3 separate regions of the Homo sapiens genome follow, and regions 2 and 3 are each linked to region 1. Evidence: promoter capture Hi-C in human tissues and cell types (Jung and others, 2019). All regions are on one chromosome and are shown on one strand. Each heading gives the region's core, a stretch centred on a gene start or on the middle of the fragment in contact. The rest is flanking DNA. Distances are from core to core; before and after follow the strand shown.

What was found. The method cuts DNA at HindIII sites, captures the fragments that hold promoters and counts their contacts. A contact is called where the count stands out against the background at its distance.
Region 2: a contact is called between a fragment that was not itself captured here and the fragment with the promoter of NDUFS5 in region 1, in 1 of the 25 tissues and cell types used here (pancreas).
Region 3: a fragment that was not itself captured here is called in contact with the fragment with the promoter of NDUFS5 in region 1 in 1 of the 25 tissues and cell types used here (adrenal gland).

What each region holds. Positions count from the first base shown.
Region 1 is chr1:39,024,960-39,027,661 of GRCh38, forward strand. It overlaps NDUFS5 (NADH:ubiquinone oxidoreductase subunit S5), which reads left to right and starts at 1,391. Exons shown (of 3, transcript NM_004552.3): 1 at 1,391-1,443. RefSeq lists enhancers at 1,223-1,472, 1,332-1,918, 1,919-2,504. The HindIII fragment of the contact is 8,915 bases long and covers 1-2,702 here.
Region 2 is chr1:39,261,391-39,264,092 of GRCh38, forward strand. All of the region lies in intron 6 of MACF1 (microtubule actin crosslinking factor 1), which reads left to right. Among named protein-coding and RNA genes, the nearest start is that of MACF1, 58 kb to the left of the region's middle. The HindIII fragment of the contact is 3,503 bases long and covers 1-2,702 here.
Region 3 is chr1:38,853,201-38,855,902 of GRCh38, forward strand. RRAGC (Ras related GTP binding C) reads right to left here. Exons shown (of 7, transcript NM_022157.4): 3 at 2,508-2,702. Among named protein-coding and RNA genes, the nearest start is that of RRAGC, 5.2 kb to the right of the region's middle. The HindIII fragment of the contact is 4,658 bases long and covers 1-2,702 here.

The DNA.
Region 1 (2,702 bases), core at 141-2,640:
ATATGTTCTAGTATTTTCCTCCCATACCTCCAATGTATAATATCTCATGCACCCTGTGGTCCACCCCCCAAAGACATACACACAACACTTTAGAGTCTCTGATGTAGTCAAAGGGAGTCATTGGAGGTTCTGGAACAGATGACAGGCATGGTAGCAGTTGATTCACAAACTGAAAGCTGAGACATCAAAGAACTGCGACTGCCTTGGAATGTTTCCCATGTGCTAGCCACCGCCTCAGTGCTTTATACATAAATCAGTTAATCCCTATAGCAAGCCTCCATTGTGAATACCATAATTATCTTAACAGACGAGGAGACTGAGGCACAATGAAGTTAAGAAACTTTCCTAGAGTCACACGAAATTGGTGGGGGCCTACTTTTTTTTTTTTTTTTTTTTTTTTTTTTTTTTTTTTTTGAGACTGAATCTAGCTCTGTCGCCAGGCTGGAGTCCAGTGGCGCGATCTCACCTCACTGCAACCTCCGCCTCCCGGATTCAAGCGATTCTCCTGCCTCGGCCTCCCCCCACTAGCTGGGATTACAGGCACTCGCTGCCACACCCAGCTAATTTTTGTATTTTTAGTAGAGACAGGGTTTCACCATATTGGCCAGGATGGTCTCGATCTCCTGAGCTTGTGATCCGCCCACCTCGGCCTCCCATAGTGCTGGGATTACAGGCCTGAGCCACTGCGCCCGGCTGGGGGCCTACATTTGACCCCACGTGGTGGTTTGGGCTCATAGTCCATGTGCTTAACCACTAGTGGGTAGGCAGGGAGCCAGTGTTCTTTCTCTCCTGTGACTTTGGTGAAGTCTCTCACCACTCAGTGTTGTCGTGAGCATGCTAGGCAGAGTGCAAGAAAGGAGCAAGAACTCACTAATGGCTAGGCCTTCCCTGTGTCTCTGTAATTGATGGGTTTGGGTTTTTTTTCCTTTCTCTCTCTCTACCTCCTCTCTCTCTTCTTCATCCTCTCTCTCTCACTCTCCCCCTGAGATAAGGTCTTGCTCTGTTGCCAGGGCTGGAATGCAATGGAATGGTGTGATCATGGCTCACTACAGCCTCAATCTCCTGGGCTCAAGGGATCCTCCCACCTCAACCTCCTGAGTAGCTGGAACCACAGGCATGCACCACCTCGCCCGGCTAATTTTTTATTTTTTGTAGAGAGGGGAGTTTCGCCATGTTGCCCAGGCTGTTTTCGAACTCCTGGGCTGAAGTGATCTTCCTCCCTCAGCCTTCCAAGGTGCTGGGATTGCAGACGTCAGCCACCGTACCAGGCCAACGGGCTCGGTTTCTATGGTTTTGTGGGGAGACGGCTGAGGGAAGGTCGGCTTCCGGCGTCGCGCTGCAAACGTCTCGCTGAGGTCATCCTTTACGGCAGGCGTCCGCGTCGCTAGCTAGTCGTTCTGAAGCGGCGGCCAGAGAAGAGTCAAGGGCACGAGCATCGGGTAGGTAGGGGCTGCTTATGTCCGCGCGGCAGCTTAGCTTAAGGACCTTCCTTCCGAGGTCTCTTTAACAGATTTCCTCTTGGCTTGCTGTGTGTCCCCTTCTCCCAGACCTGAACTCAGGGCGTGTTCCCTGCCCTCCCAGGCCGCTTCACCTCCACAGCTAATGGCACCGAAGCCTGGAGATTGCCGCTCTCTCCACTTTCCACATTTGTTTAGGTTTTTGCCGGACTAATGTTTTGGCTTTCTGTTTCTTAACCTAAAGTCTACGATCCTTATCCCAGCTTTCCAGGCTCTGCGTGATTTCGGCCCCGCCGGCCTCCTGAGCTCATTTCATTCTTTTCACCGTCATGCACGCTGCGCTCCATTGTCCCCCAAACATAGCCAGCACTTCCGGCTGTAACTCCGGGCTGTTGCCCAACTGGAACACTCTGCCCACTGATCTTCACTTGGCGAACTCGCAAGCCATGTTAAAGGCATTTTCAAGTCTCCGGGCAGAGTTCGTGCTTCCTCCTTCGAGCTCTTACCCACTCGTGTTCCTTGCAGTGTATTCGCAATTCCGAGTGTGTGTCTCTGGTGCTTACGTTGGAGCTGCTTTCCCCCGCATCTGAGTGCCTGGAACGTAACTACTCAGTAAATGATGACTGAGGGATGGGAAGGAACTTAAGAAGTTAAATTCACCTTTTTGTTGAGATGGAGTTTCGCTCTTGTTGCCCAGGCTGGAGTGCAGAGTGGCGCGATCTCGGCTCACTGCAGCCTCTGCCTCCCGGATTCAAGCGATTCTCCTCCCTGAGACTCCCGAGTAGCTGGGATTACAGGCATGCGCCCCCACGCCCGGCTAATTTTGTATTTTTTTAGTAGAGAGAGGGTTTCGCCATGTTGGTCAGGCTGGTCTTGAACTCGCGGCCTCAGGTGATCCGCCCGCCTCGGCCTCCCAAGGTGCTGGAATTACAGGCGTGAGCCACTGCGCCCAACTAAATTCACCTTTAAATCTACCATGAGTACACATTTATATTGATATTTGTGGGTGTGCGCGCGCTTCCTTTCAGTCATTTTAGGCAGTCAGGGTTTGTTTTTGTGTGTGTGTTTTTACATTTAACATTATTATGTATTTGCATGTAAATTTTTTTCCCTACTGTCTGTAATAGTCTACAAAGTAAGTCTTAACCCATTTCTTTCGCTCTGGTTTTTTTTTTTTTTTGAGACAGGATCTCGCTTTGTTGCCCAGGATGGAGTGCAGTGGCCAGGTCATAGCTCACTGAAGCC
Region 2 (2,702 bases), core at 87-2,586, 240 kb after region 1:
ATCACCATAATCTAGTTTGGGGACATTTTCATCATCCAAATAAGATCCTTCTTGTTCATTTACAGTTACTGCACATTTTCATCACCAGCCTCAGGCAGCCACTAATTTATTTTCTATCTTGATAGATTTGCTTATTCTGGACATTTCATATAAATGGAATCCTATGATAGATGGTCTTTTGTATCTGGCTTTTTTCACTTAACATAATATTTTTTGGTTCATCCATGTTGTGGCACATATCAGTACGTCATTCTTTTTTATTGCTGAATATTCTGTTGTATGGATATATCATGTATTTTGTTTAAATATTAAGCCAGTTGATAGACATTTGAGTGGTTTTCACTTTTTCACTGTTATAAATAAAGTTATTTGCATACCAGTCTGTGTGGGTTTATGTTTTCATTTCTCTTGTGTATACATGTATATACCTAGGAATGGGATTTCTTAATTGTACAGTAAGCATGTTTAGCTTTTAAAGAAACTGCCAAATTGTCTTGCAAAATGGTGTATCATTTTACATTCCTACCAGCAATGTATGTGGTTTCCTGTGTCTTTACATCCTCACCAGTATTTATTGTCTGTTTTAGATTATAGCTATCACAGTGAGTGTGAAATTGTATCTCTTTGTGGTTTTAGTTTGCAGGAAAATGTATTATTTAATTGAATTCCACAAACATTGACTGGGAATGTTATGAGCAAGGTCTTAGATAGAGTGTATGGAAGATACACGGCTGAGTGCAATGGCTCACACCTGTAATCCCAGCACTTCGGGAGGCCTAGGTGGGCAGATCACTTGAGGTCAGGAGTTCAAGACCAGCCTGGCTAACATGGTAAAACCCCATCTCTACTAAAAATACAAAAATTAGCCAGGTGTGTTGGCGCACTGTAGTCCCACCTACTTGGGAGGCTGCAAAGCATGAGAATCACTTGAACCCGGGAGGTGGAGGCTGCAGTGAGCTGAAATTGTGCCACTGCACTCCAGCCTGGGCTACACGAGACTCCATCACAAAAAAAAAAAAAAAAAAAAAAGAATCTACTACAGAAGATACAAAATTGAACTAGATACAGACCATCTAGTTGGACTCTTATTGTTTAGGAGAGTGAGAACAGACATACCATAAAATAACTTGACAGAGGTTTAGAGAATGAGAGAGGTATGGGTTAGGATGATGGAACACAGTATGAACTCAACAGTGGGCAGCAGTTACTAGTAACAACTTATTATAATTATTAATTGACCTTATAACTTCCAGGGCTTTTGACACAGCCCACTGTTCTTTTTCCTGTTACCAATTTTACAGAAAGGTAATAGCAGCTTTGGCCTAGTCTGTCTTCTGCATGCATATTGGCTGCCTGCTTTTCTCTGTTATTTCAGCACAGCCAAATGCCTATTTATTTGTCTTCTTGTAGGTGGGAGCACCGCTCCCAGAATATTTTCTCAGTTTTAACTATGGATTCCTTTTCTTTGCCGTTCTGAGGGCTTGGTATTTGCCTATACTAGCTAAGTGTTCTGGTGTGTGGGGAAAGGTTCTCTGCTTGTGAAGCTTTTGATTGACTACTGAAGGATCATGTGGAGTGCCCCCCCACCCCCCGCCTCGTCTTGCATCAGATTTGGCATGGTATGTCTTTTGCTAGTTATCTGTCATTGTGGTTTTCTAGTCTTTCATTATTGAGTATCTATTAGCTGTTCTCACCAAGAACATATGCTATGTAAAGCCAAATGGAAATGCAGAGTAGAACTGTTACATGTTAGGGAATCAGCAAAATTGTTATTATGGTCAGTCTGTGTTATTGGTGTTAATGAAGTAGAATAATGATGTACCTGTAGACATGGATGGTAGTTTTCACCTCAAGGGAATATTCAGTTGAAGGAGAAGGGAGAGGCTGGATCCAGATTAAAGATTTGTGACTGCTGATGAGGCTGGTAATATTGATAACTTCATGCAGAGGTTTATGGTTTCTAAAATGCTTTAACACATTTTTTTTAATGTGCTAAATGGTAGATGTTCTTTTTAATTTTAATTTGAGTTTTTAGTTTTGAAAATCTCAAATACTCGGAAGAGTATATAACAGATCCTTATGTGTGTAGTTGCCTTCAGAATTTAACAGGTGTTCCTTTTGTTATATTTGCTTCAGGGTTTTTTCTCTCTCTTCCTCTTTAAAGTAATAAAACATCTCAGATACATCCAACTTTCTTTGCCCTCTCTGCTCCCCAGGTAAATATTATCCTAAAGTTGATGTGTATCATTCCCATACATGCTTTTGTACATTTACAGCAGATGATCTATTCATAAACAATATGTACTGTTGCTTGTATGTCTTTATATTTGACACACATAGTATCTTTGGTATATCCTTTCTTTCATCTTTTTTCTTTTTTCTTTTTTTTTTTTTTTTTTTTGAGACGGAGTCTCACTCTGTCACCCAGGCTGGAGTGCAGTGGCGCGATTTCAGCTCACTGCAAGCTCCACCTCCCAGGTTCATGCCATTCTTCTGCCTCAGCCTCCCGAGTAGCTGGGGCTACAGGCGCCCGCCACCACACCCGGCTAATTTTTTGTATTTTTAGTAGAGATGGGGTTTCACCGTGTTAGCCAGGATGGTCTTGATCTTCTGACCTCATGATCCGCCCACCTCAGCCTCCCAAAGTACTGGGATTACAGGCATGAGCCACTGTGCCCAGCATGATTTGTTCATTTTAACTA
Region 3 (2,702 bases), core at 138-2,637, 170 kb before region 1:
GAGTCGGGACTCTACAGAGAATGGAGGAATCTACAGGAGTCTGGAGGCCTAAAAGGACTTACGGTGGAGAAGTAACACATGTAGATTCAATAAAACACGTATTTGAGAGGGAAGCCTTTAACAATTTAAACACTGTCAACAATTCTATCTGCTTTATAACTCAGGGAGTACAATCTTCATTATATAGTCGCATCCACCACACATTTATACGTATATATAACATCAGAGACACAGAACTTTATAGGTAATTTAAAGATACTTTCAGCTGGGCGCGATGGCTCACGCCTGTAATCCCAGCACTTTGGGAGGCCAAGGCAGGTGGACCACTTGAGGTCGGGAGTTCGAGATCAGCCGGACCAACATGGAGAAACCCCATGTCTACTAAAAATACAAAAAATTAGCCAGGCGTGGTGGCGCATGCCTGTAATCCCAGCTACTTGGGAGGCTCAGGCAGGAGAATCGCTTGAACCAGGGAGGCAGAGGTTGCGGTGAGCCGAGATGGCATCATTGCACTCCAGCCTGGGCAACAAGAGTGAAACTCCATCTCAAAAAAAAAAAAAAAAATACTTTCAAGGAGCTGACCTAAGAACCTAATCTAGCAAGACAGGGGTCTAATCTAGATGTAAGAGCACTGGAACAGGTAAGGCCAAGATGACCCCATAGATACTAGGGAGAAAGGAATATTTTAGTGTTTCCTGTAGGCCAAAAGGTGAGCAAAGAAAGAATGTCCCGCACCTTTGAGGCTTGAGGTAAATGGGGACAGGGAGAACCTGCAAGTCACAGGGCATTTTAGTAAACTGAGTTTCTAGAAACTGGAAATGAAAAGGAGCTTCATCCATAGGACTGCTAGTACTAAATAAAAGTCTTTTTTTTTTTTTTTTTTTTGAGACGGAGTCTTGCTCTGTCACCCAGGCTGGAGTCCAGTGGCACGATCTTGGCTCACTGCAACCTCCACCTCCTGGGTTCAAGCGATTCTCCTCTCTCAGCCTCCCAAGTAGCTGGGACTACAGGCACACACCACAATGCCCGGCTAATTTTTTGTATTTTTAGTAGAGACGGAGTTTCGCCATGTTGGCCAGGCTGGTCTCAAACTCCTGGCCTCAAGTGATCTGCCTGCCTCGGCCTCCCAAAGTGCTGGGATTATAGGCATAAGCCACTATGCCTGGCCTAAATAAAAGCTTGATGCAACATTCTACTGAAGTTAACAAGGTCTAGGACCCTACATGGTACTGAGGAAAGGGATGGCATGTACCACTAGGGTGGGATGCCCTGGAAAGGAACACAGACACGGAGTAAAGAGAATCAGAAGGATCCCCATGGAGCACTGGGGAACACAGGACAAGAACGGCTCAAAATCCAGGTAAAAAACTATTAGCAGTGGATTCCCAAAAAAATAAGACTGAATTTTTGTGGAGAGCCACTTACATTTTCTCCTACAAACATTGCTGAATTTTTATTTTTTTAACATGAATTATTTTCAAATTATTTAGAAATTTAATCCAGGCAAACTAGAGGTCAATGAGACTTTTCGACATGGTTTCCTAGAAGAATAACTGAAAGATCTTGGAGCCTGAGACCCAGAGAATTTTAGGGGGAGGGATAGCAGTTAGCTTGAGCCCATAAAGAAGTCACAACAATAGAACGGGGACAGAGAAATAACTTGCTGTCTCTCTCCCCTTCTCCCTCTTTAAGCTACTTCTATCGTCAAGAGAATATTTTCTTGGGTACTTTTTAATACTCATTTCTACCTATATCACCAAATAAAATAAGATGTACAAAAATATTCCTCATACACTTTTAGAATGCAAATACACAAATCAATCCTATCAAGTAGGTATTATTTAATAATAATTTCTTAACAGTAGTTACAAACCAATAGTCCTCTAAATTTAATAGCAGCCTTATGCACATTTATAAGATAAACCCACCTAAGCCAAACTTTATAGAGTTTCATAAAAGTATAAAGTGTTTTAAAAGCTAAGATATATTACAGTCAGTCCAGGGGGGAGGTGGAAGGGAGCCAGCAGGAAAAATAAAAATGAAAAATAAAAAGAGTCAGTCCAGATTTGAAAGTGCACTCTCTGTATAAGGCTGTTCCTACTGAGAAAGATACTGTCTAAGACTCAAGCTAAAGACTTCCACAACAAATGTGACAGATTCACTTCACTGATGCAAGGCGGGGAAAAGTAATGAAACCAAGAGGAAGGAGTCCCAAAGCAGATTTATGCCATGAAGAAACAGCCTGACTCCAGTCTCTTGAGATGAATTTGGAAAAGCACCAGTGGAAACACTTCACATGACTTCAATCTCCAGGAAAACGCAAAAAGTGGGTAATTTCTCAATATCAGGCTCCCCAGACAGCCTGGAATTCAACAACAAGATCAAAAACATAAAAGATGTGGCAAAGGGCACACAGGTAGCAGAAAGCTATGGTGTTTGTAATGACAGAGATGGGAATACATTTACACCTTGTTCAGGGCTTTCATATCAAACACACATGTTGTTACCTAAGATGGAGTTTTTCTAGCCCAGCATCTGCAAGGTCATCATTGGCCCTTTGATGAATGTCCCTCTGTGTTTCTATTTTGTGATCATCAGACAGACCATCAACTTTGTGAATAAAAACCTCAAAATTCATGTCTGGGTTAACTTTGTAGGCTTTAGAAACAGTAATGTGAAGTCTTGTTAAAGCCTCCATGTAG